Regions from separate parts of the Homo sapiens genome. Here region 1 is linked to region 2. Evidence: promoter capture Hi-C in human tissues and cell types (Jung and others, 2019). All regions are on one chromosome and are shown on one strand. Each heading gives the region's core, a stretch centred on a gene start or on the middle of the fragment in contact. The rest is flanking DNA. Distances are from core to core; before and after follow the strand shown. Region 1 overlaps OLFM1 (olfactomedin 1). Region 2 holds the start of MRPS2 (mitochondrial ribosomal protein S2).

The links. Contacts are between HindIII fragments. The study calls those that stand out against the background at their distance.
Region 1: a fragment that was not itself captured here is called in contact with the fragment with the promoter of MRPS2 in region 2 in 1 of the 25 tissues and cell types used here (H1 embryonic stem cells).

Annotation. Positions count from the first base shown.
Region 1 is chr9:135,095,021-135,101,434 of GRCh38, reverse strand. OLFM1 (olfactomedin 1) reads right to left here. Exons shown (of 6, transcript NM_001282611.2): 3 at 5,416-5,571; 4 at 2,930-3,149. Among named protein-coding and RNA genes, the nearest start is that of OLFM1, 11 kb to the right of the region's middle. RefSeq lists an enhancer at 2,805-3,306. The HindIII fragment of the contact is 4,387 bases long and covers 1-3,975 here.
Region 2 is chr9:135,499,297-135,503,085 of GRCh38, reverse strand. MRPS2 (mitochondrial ribosomal protein S2) reads right to left here and starts at 2,404. Exons shown (of 4, transcript NM_016034.5): 1 at 2,333-2,404; 2 at 1,963-2,088; 3 at 1,113-1,242. The coding sequence starts at 2,375. It overlaps PIERCE1 (piercer of microtubule wall 1), which reads left to right and starts at 3,217. Exons shown (of 3, transcript NM_001048265.2): 1 at 3,217-3,377. The coding sequence starts at 3,235. RefSeq lists an enhancer at 1,555-2,179 and silencers at 2,135-2,294, 2,505-2,674, 2,945-3,114. The HindIII fragment of the contact is 18,925 bases long and covers 1-3,789 here.

The DNA.
Region 1 (6,414 bases), core at 533-3,032, 400 kb after region 2:
AGCAACAGTGACTTGAAGAAGGTAGCAGCAAGGAGAGAACTATCAGGAAGACTTTGGGAGAGCCTCTCCTCCAGGCTTACTGCAGGAAGGGAACCCGGACCCTGTTCACTAGACCATGGAACCTGCAGTCACACTTCACACCAGCAGGAACAGCAGGCACACCAAGAAACTGCGGGGTCCGGGACAGGGGAGGAAACTGCCCACTACTGGAGGCCACGTCTCACAGAAGCCCTCACCACCCAGGACGGCCGGCAGCGGGTGCCGGCTCCACCTTGCAGAAGGCCGGGCTCCTCAGCAACCTCCCAGCAAGGGAACAGGCTGCCAGGGTGGTCCTGAGATGGGTACCTATTTGCAAGGCTAAAATGAAGCTAAATTAAGCAGCTGCAGGATATTAATTTGGTGCTTAAGTTACTGAGCTTGAATGAAAGCCTGGGAAGAGGGAGGAGGAAGGTCAGCAGCTGCTAACTCTATCTATGTGTCAATCATCTATCAATCAATCAATCAATCAATCAATCATTTATCTATCTAACTACCTATCCAGTTATCAGTCAGCTGTCATCACCTCTCTATCCATCGACCTACCTGCCTACCAGCACCTCCTCTGCTGGGCACAGTGCTGAGCTCAGGATCTGAAGGACTTCCATGAATTACCATTCCATGAATTACCCCAGAGCTCAGGGACTCCCTGCACCATTTTACAGAGGAGGAGGCAGCTGAAACTCGAGAGGGGAAATGCCTTGGGGGAGTCGCACAGCTATCGAGTGGCATTTACTACCTTACAAAACTGCCTCCTCTAACGGGGGAGCTCAGTTTGCTGTGTGTCAAGATTAGCTGGGTGCTGGCTACGGGCAGATGCCAGGGCCCCACCTGCAGACGCTCTGATTCAGCAGCTCCGCCTACGTGTCGCAGCCCTTCCAAAGAAAGAATTAAACGCAGAGGTGAAACCAGGCAGCTGCACTCCAAAGGTGGGAGAAAGAGGGCCTCTGGAGGCCTGTTAACCCTCTCTCTTTACTCCCAAATCAATGGTGTTAGCAGCCCAAGGACGGCCATGTGATCTCTTTCACAAGACCCAAGATTTTAAGCTGCAAGGTAAACTCACCCAGCTACTAAAAATAGGCCAAGCACAGATGGGAAGGCCAGCTCATCCGGGAGGGGTGGTGCCCCCTCAGAAAGGCCCTTGGCTTCTCACTATTTGCAACTTTTTACTCCAAATCCTCACTTTGCTCCCTTGATTCCTTGATTGGAAAATGTGGAGGTTTTCTCTGGGTTTCTCCATGATGTGCCCTGTCTATTCCAGGGAGGGAAGACACTGCTCATGGGGAAATACATAACAACAACAAAAAGACCCCACCACTGGATTCTTCGGAGGCCGAGGGAGACCCCATAAGTGGGAGTGTTTGGAGGTCCTGGAGAGAGGGGCAATGGTGAGGTCACTCAAGGTCACGATGGGTAGCAAGCCGAAGACAGTACCCAAGGGCAATAGTTATATAGCCCCATGATCGTTAATACAGCCCTATCATCATTAACATTCACACCAACTCCTAGAAAGTCAAACACTCACACCAACTCCTAGAAAGTCAAATTGGGAAGCCATGGTAGAGGCCATCTGGCCCAGACCCCCCTCCTGGGACTGTCTGAGATCACCCAGCCACTGTCATACCAGGGCTGGGCACCATGGAGCACAGAGCTGAAAGAATGCAGTTAGCAGCCCCCGTGAGACACAGCCAGCATGCACACATCAAAATGGATTAGTTCTCTGACTCCAAGCATTTCTTATTGTCTCTGTTTCGGGACTGGGGAATTTAAAGCTTTGTGCGTTCACTGAGGACACCTAGAAGAGCGTTTAAAAATCACCTAAATTGGGAACCTGGGAAACCAAGGGTTTGGCTGACTCTTTTCTTTCCCCTTGAATATTCTCTCTCTTCACCTGACTAACATTAGAGGTTTTTTTTTAAAGTGTTCTTTTTGGATGTTTTAGGTTTATAGTAAGGCACTTGGAGTGTGTGTGTGTGGAAGGGAGAGTAGAAATAAAAAGGTAATCCAGTTAGAACATCAGAGAAAGCCTGAGATAAACTTCATAAGGCAAAATCACCCTAAAATTACCCTAAGTTACCCTAAAAAGTAGGTAGTATGAAAACAACAACCTTTGTGTTATTAAACAAAAAACAAAAAACAAAAACAGCTTGGTGAGGACGGATGGCTAATATTTCTTAAGAAAAATTAAAAGTGGAATTGGGATTTGAAATGTGCTATTTAAAAGCAGACTCAGACACTAATGTGTTAATATTTCTCCTAGTAATTAACTGGAAAGTTGATAAGGTGAATGGGTAATCAATCAGAAATAAGAATCCAAATGGGTCACCCCACACTGGGGGTCTTTCTTAGGAAACACACCCGAGGAAGGGGTTCATTTGCTCAGAGGCTCCTCCCCTTCCAGGCTGTGAGCAGGGGCTCCCTCCCGTGCTGTGAATGGCAGCTCTACTGAGATGTGATTGAATTTTGTTCCCTTTTTTATTCAAACTATGCATGATTCAATATTTCAGGAGCTCCACCAGCCCCCGTTCTCAATCCGGAGGAATCTGAGATGTTATTGCCAGCCCTATTAAACTGGTGTCTTCAATGCACACACACATACGATTCACACACACACACACAATCTGCCAGATGGTATGCTATTTTTTTCCAGATGTGCGACTCAGCGGGGTCTGTGGCCTCTGCACAAGACCCGGCTCTGAACAATGCCCTAGGATGGGTGTGGCCTACGCTCCTCCTTTGCTGTCTCTCAAGGTAGACCTGCCCAGGAGCCCTAATCCAGCCATCACCTCGCGAAGCCAGGCGGGCGCTGTCCACTTCAGCACCACTCCCTAAGCCTGTGCGTGTGCCGGAGGTGGGCAGTGCAGCGCCACGTCCCGCAGGGTACTGGGCCTACCTAGTTTTTGCATGCATGCACGGAGCCTTTCTTCAAGATTGGACACTCTGCTCTGAAGTTCATCGTAGTCATAGGCGCCAATTTCCTCTTGCAGCTCGTTAAGCACTGACGTCAGATTCTGGACCTCCTCTTTAAACTGCAATACCAATTTGGCATCGGCCTTGTACTCTTCCAACACAGGTATCAAAGGCCTAAGTTCATCCATTTTCGCTTTTATCGCCTGCAAGGTTAAAATAAGCTGGTTCAGTGCGATGCATGCAAGAACTCTCACACCCTGCCTTGGCCTGGCTTCTCCCTAGGTGAGGGAAAGTGTGTATATTCCCGCTTTATTTACAGGCTTATTTGTTCTGGTCCAAATGAGTTAGAAGAGCATATTAAACAGTCCTCAGAACACCAGCATATTTGGGAAAGGTCTTTATTGTCAGTTTAGAATGCAACATCTTAAGGTTACATGCTTTGAGTCACATACACGAAGTTTTTTTTTTCTTTCTTTTTCAAAAAATGCATTGACAAGGGTTCAAACTATTCATGAAATGCAGCTACAGTCGCATGCAAAGGAGGATCCTGGTTGTATTCAAGGTTCCTTAGTGAAATGGTGCTAAGTATTGGAAAATAATAGTAAAAATGCATGGTGCAAAAAGCTCTCTGGCTCTCTTTCATGGTTACATGGGAGTGGACTGCTTCTTCAGTCACTGCAGCATTGAAAAAACTCTTTTAAGTTAGCCCTGCAAGTAAGAAAATGAAATACCGTTGAAGAACTAGCTCACTAGCCTGCCTGAAACAGACAGCCATCAGGAAACACATATTTGCATGGTCAGTTAGAAAAATCCCACTGTAATGCTCGAGTTAGTCAAAACAAACTGCTTTAAGAGTTATTGAGATTCCCTCGTCACAATTTCTGTTGGAATTTTTTTAATGCGGTTTAGCACAGTATAGGCAAGCGCTTGCTTTTCTTCCCCCAGAGCCACAGCACCCCAAAATTGGAAACTCGGAGAGATGCCTGTGTCAACAACGTTTGCCAAGATGAGCTACCTCCCAGTTGCTGAAGACACCCCCCTCGTTAGAGGAGTCTGCTGGCCGCAGAGAAGGGAGTGCTGGCTCAGAGACATAAATGCTTTTTTGGTTAGACAGGTCAACATCTCTCCCTCCAGAGTAATTCATGATGACCAGCCAGATGCGAGGACAAAAATGTCCAACTGCCTCTGATGAGCACAATCGGCTCATTTCACCTCAACAGGATTGGGCCTGCTATTATTTTATTTATAATATAGATTTATAATTTCATTAGCTTGCCATTTCATCTATTTAATGTATCATTTTTAAAAGAGAATTAGTTCTTGCCTCATGCAGGGAGCACATCGAAGAAAAACATTAGCATAAAAAGGACGGGAAGACAGAGACAGAGTACACCAGCAGTTTCTAGTCGGGCGAGGCTGTGTAATTTGACCTGTTCATTTACATCTGGGCTGGATTTCTAATTAAAATGCATGTATACCTTCATTAAGGCGGCATATAACGTTTCAGTCGAATCGCACTGAGATGGAGTCAACTGTGGGCATCTCTCTACCTGGCTGCACATCTGTATCTATGATTTTAGGTCAAACAAACACCAGTTTTAATGTCCAGAGTTACCCGGAGAAGCAGAACACTTCCCACGAGGTGGAAAGGAGGCTGGCATCTCTCTCTTTTTTCCCTGCAAGTCTATGGTATGCTTTGTCATGGCTAGATTAGGTCAGATGTGAAAACTGCCCTGAGAGATTCCTGCTCCAGAATGGCCCTCATCAATTCAGCTAATCTTTGGCTAATGTGATTTACCTGCAGCAGCTGCAGAATGACAAGGGCCAATAACGATGTCCCTTCCCAGCTAATATTCGACTTGGCTCGGGCAGCGCAGGATCTCAGACCCCTGGCTTCCAAACCACACTGACGGGGGCTTGGGGGCGAGTGTATGCTGCTGCCACCACTCAGGCCGCCCCTGTCAAGGTGGCTTCTGCCAAGCCAGGGCCAGTGGTGGCCTCCCTACTGCCAAGGGCAACAGTCCTTTCAAGGCACAGAACAACCTTTGCTATGCTTCTCCCTGCCCCAAATGACCATTTCTGTAGGGAAAGGGAGAGCATGAAGGGAAAGCACACCCAGCCTCAGAGGAGGAGAAGAAGGAGAGGGAGGAGGAAGAGGAGGAGAAGAAGGAGAGGGAGGAGGAAAAGGAGGATGAAGAGGATGAGGGGGAAGAGGAGGAGAAGAAGGAGAGGGAGGAGGAAGAGGAGGAGAAGAAGGAGAGGGAGGAGGAAGAGGAGGATGAAGAGGGGGAGGAGGAGGAAGAGGAGGAGAAGAAGGAGAGGGAGGAGGAAGAGGAGGATGAAGGGAGGAGGAGCAAGAGGAGGAGAAGAGGAGGAGGAAGAAGAGAAGGAGGAGAGGAGGGAGGGGAAGGAGGAGGAAGAGGAGGAGGAGGAGGATAAGGGGAGGGAGAGGGGGAGGAACATGCATACCTTAAACTGCCTGGCCAGGTGTTGCTTATGACTCTCCTCCACCTGTTTGAACTTGGACTCCAGTCCTTTCATTTGGTTCTCCATCTTCTCCACGTACTGCAAGTCTCTCTGGGTCCGCCTGTCCAAGACCTCTATGGATTGAGACATGTTCTGCACCTGTCAAAAGGGCAACAGGTTCAGCAAAACAGCCGCAGTAGGTGCCAGGCAATCTTCTCTGCCTGCTCGTACAGACATTGCCCTTTCCCACACAGCCAGCACACTGGGAACCAGAAGTGGCCCATGCATTATTTACAAGGTAATCGCCAGCATCGCGGACTGTGAGGACTGATAACTCCCCAAACACAGCAAATTGGTTGGGTAAACATTTTCTTTGCCAACCTGTTCTTATCATCAGGGATGCAAATCAGGGGTGTAGGAGACTCAAGTTCCGTTATTCGCTGTAGCTCCAGGCACAGGCTGGGTGATTTCTCTTGATCTCTCTCTCTCTCTTTTTTTTTTTTTTTTGGTAGTGGTGGGTGGGGATTGTTCCTAGTCTTTCTGTTGCAGGACAACATTAGTTAGGCAAGCATAAACACCAGCAGAGAGGAATGGCACTCTTAGGCTGCCCCGCCCCCAGGTATAAATTCTCCTTCTTCCTAAATCTCATTGACTGTCTTGCTGATAAGGTTGATTACTTAAGTGCAGAGTGAAGGAACAAGGGAGCTGCTCTCCCTGACTCTGCATCAAGCTTTTTTCCCTATCTGCTATGCCATCCATCACACCCCACAGTATCATAGGTAGATGACTGCTCTGCAAACATGTACATTCTGAGCATAGAGTCAGGAATCAATCACCCAGCAAATGAAGAATCGCTGTTTTACATCTTTACAGGCAGATCTGAATTGAGTCTAGCCTCAAGATGGAACTTTAATATTCAACAGGATTCCAGGGAGCTTAAAAGAAAAACAGTTTTAGTGCAGCCACCTGCCAGTGCATTTTATTTGCAGGAAACTGGTGTGT
Region 2 (3,789 bases), core at 1,155-3,654:
GGGAACCCTGATCCAAAGCACTGGACCACTGCTGGCCTGGGCTGAGAAAAGCGGGGCATGGGAGACACCCCCGCCTCTCGGTGCGTGACAGGCGAGTCATCCACATTTGCGGTTCCCAGGTCCTCACCTCCAGTCTACTCCCACTGGGTTCTGTCCCTTCCTCTCAAGCAACCCTGCCCATCAAGGCACTGGCGACCTCCATCTTGCCAAGGTCACAGCCTTGAATTCACTTCTCAGCAGCATCAACAGAGAACCACATCTCCCCTACCCCCGGCTGTCCCTCTTCACTGACTCCAAACACTGGAGCACCCAGGGCTCCACCTTGGACCTCCTTTTCCGATGCTCTGGAAACACCTGCCAGCCCCCGATGCTGATGGCTCCCTGGGCCCAGGCCCATCCCTCCTGGTAACCGTGTGACCTCTCCACTGGGGCAGCAAAGGGTTCATACCTGGTAGGAACCAAGCTTGTGATGTCCCCCAGGTCTCCCCTGGTTTTCACCATCTCAGTAACCAGTACCAGGCTCCACCCGAAGAGCAGGTGTTTGATCCCTTCGGCCCCAGCCACCTCCCACCCCAGCCCAAGGCCCACTGGCTCTGCCCTGCTGCCTCATGTCCACCTGCTGCTCCAGCTCTTCCGCTACTGCGATTTAAGCCCCGCCACCTTCACCCTGAACGCCCACACCAACCTCCTCCCTGGCCTCCCACCTGCCCCTCCCATCCCCTCCCCCCACAGCAGTCAAAATGACCATGTGAGAATACAGGACCAGTCATTCCTCCTCCCCGCAGCCCAGAAGGCCCAGCCCGATCCGGGGGGACCAACCTTACAGGTTCTGCCCTCAGCCTTTCCATTTCTGAACCCGTGGAGTCCTGCAACCCCCAGCAGGCCTGCCCTATCAAGGGCTGTGAGCGCCACACCAAGGCACACAAGAGCGTCCGCCAAGCTGAGGAATAAACTCCTGCTTCTCTGTGGGGCTCTGTATTCCCATGTGGAGGAGGATGGGGCTGTAATCACCTAAAACTGACATAGGCCAGTTCAAAAGTGGCCCTAGAACCAGAGCAGGTCCCAGGTTCCTCCTGGGAACCGCCCCGGGCTCAGATGGGGGTGTCACCTACCTGTGCCGACAGCCAGCTTTGTGTCCCAGATGGACTCGGGCATCGAAGAGGCTTCTCACGGAAAACAGTTCCTTGACATTGAAGAAGTCAGAGTGCTTGAGGGGCTCATTCAAAATCTTGTCGTTGAAATCTACGGCAGGGAGGAGGAGCGACGCTGCGTCTCCCACCGGTGGCAGCAGAGACAGGCAGAGCGCAGTTCCCGCCCACCCCTGCTCCCAAGTGCCTTCTGTGACACCGAGGTGGGGAGCCGGGAGCCCAGCAGCCCCAGGAAAGACCTGGAAGCACAGGGACCTTTTCAGGAAACAGAGGGCTGGAGCCAGGTTCTGATCCCGACCTTGCTCCTGGGTAAGCCTGGTCGAACCTGGTCAACCCCGTCCCTTGGTCTTACTTGGAAGACAGAGGAGAAAAAGAGAGGGGCCCAGCGGGTTGCTCAGGTCTTTCTGGCACCTCCCCGCCTTGTGGTCTCAGGTGGCCAGCCAGAAAGTCCCCATCAGGAGTCCAGCAAGGTGGGCAGACTCCAAGCCCAGTGCCCCCAGGTCACTTGGGCCCGCCTGGGCGAGCTCGGGGCTCCGGGCCTCGGTGGTCCAGTGACACCCCCCTAGGGAGCGAAGCCTGTGCTAACCACTGGCCCGCCCGCTCCCTCTCACCCTATCCATGGTGAGGCGGTGGCCTCAGCCCGCTGTGCTACGTCAGGCAGGACCGAGCGGCGGCGAGCACGGGAGTGGGAGGAGCCCAGCGGAGCGCGCAGTTTCGACCGCGTGCAGCGCCCAGGCCCCTCTAGGGTTCGCATCCCCCGCGGCTGCCGGCCTCTCCTCGTTCCCACCCAACTCGGCTGGGCGCCCAGTGTTACCGGTGCTGTCCTCCGACTCGCGGATCATAAGGGCCGTCGCGCTTCCAAGCGTCCTGCGGCTCGGCCGAGCAGGCCGGGGGGTCGCCTTCCCGAGAAAGCCCAACCAGCGCGACGGGGCCCGGGCACCTGGGGGGAAGTAGATAGAGGTCCTGGCGCCGAGTCCCGAATGCACCACGCCCGCTCCCCACCGCATCCCCAACGGGCCCCTCCGCGTCCCTAACGGGTCCCCTCCGCGTCCCCGCGCCCTCCCCGAGTCCCCTCCGCGCTCGCCCCGGGTCCCCTCCACGTCCCCGCCGCTCCATCGGGTCCCCGCGCCCCTCCGCATCCTCCTCGCATGCTCCTCCCCAGGGTCCCGCAAGCGCGCGCTCACCCGCGCCGAGTATTCGGGGCAGCGCGGCCGAGGATGTCGCCATGGCTGGGACGCGGGGCAGAGCGAGGTCTCCCTCCAGGCCAGGCCGAGCGGCCTCCCCTTCCGTCGCCATCCGCGCGGGGCCGCAGTGCCGCCTACAGGCCCGGAGGAGCCACAGCGCTGTCCCCAGGCGGCTGGGACCTCCCTGCGGGGGCGGGGCACGCGAGGGGTCAGGGCCCGGGGTCCTGGGCTTGAGAGTCTCGGGCGGGGAGTGGAGCCACGGTCCTCGCCCTGCAGCTCGCCCCGCCCTGCTAATGGGACCGGCCAGCCCGGGAGGCCCCTGACCCTTGGGGAAGCCCGCTGGGCGATGGGGACCCTCGCCTCCCGCCAAGTGAGCTGTGAACCACGTCCTGCGCAACCTCTCGCTCTCCAAAACTGTTTGTAATATTTAAACGATATTTGGCTTAGGAGAATTTCATAAAGTTAGCCAGATCTCGGGTCTCAATTTAGACTCGGGGTGCTGGGGGGCATAGCATCCCTGGAGTACATTGGACAGCAAAAGTCCAATCGTTGCCTGCCGAGTGGACCTGCAGTGCTTAAACCCCGTCACCCGGCTGGCGGGGTCCCAGGCCCTGGGGTTTCTTTCGCCCGGGAGTCCACGCCCTGATGCTGGGGTGGCCCGGTCCCCCCGCGGGTGGCTGGGGGCCTGGGGCTGCCTCACACGACGGTCCCAGCAGGGAATCTCTCGCCGTCCCGACCTTCCCGGCCCTTGGGGAGTCGCCCGGCAGGTTCCGGACCCACCCGCAGAGGAACCCGGCCCACGCGCGGCGCCTTTAAGGCCCCTCCGCTCGCTCCCCAGTCACGTGACCTGGCCGTCGCTTGGCAACAGGACGCCGCCGAGTCCCGCTTCTCCTCCAGGCACAATGGCTGAGGAATGCCCCAGAGCGTGCGCGGAGCCTGTGGCGCCCAAGGCCACGGCCCCGCCGGAGAGGACCAGCGACTACTACCGCGTGAGCGCGGACCTGCCGGGCAGGTTCAACAACCCGGGGTGGTTCCGGGGCTACAGGTGAGGAAGCTGGGGCCCGCCTGGTCCTGGCGTCCACTGCTCGATAGCCCCGTGTGTGAGAGACCCCGCAAGACCCCCAAGGTCCTAGCTACAGAAATCAAGAAGATCGAGTGGTCATCCGGGGCCCGCGCTGTCATCGCCCGCCAGTGAGCGGCGACCGTGCTCCCTAGAGCCTCATACAAGGAAGTGGGGATAAGGGCAGTGGGGGGCAGGGCCGTGGGGGGAGAAAGCCCAGTTGTGGTCTCAGCTCCACTGATTTGTGTCGGGTGAGTCTCCTCTCCTCTCTACCCTGAAACTCCGCTGCGGGGCGTGAGCACAGCAGCACCTCCACTGTCTTGCTGTAGACTCAGCCAGCTCTGAGCTGCCACAGGGCATTGCAGGCTAAGAAGTAGTAAGAAACTCAATTCCTGTA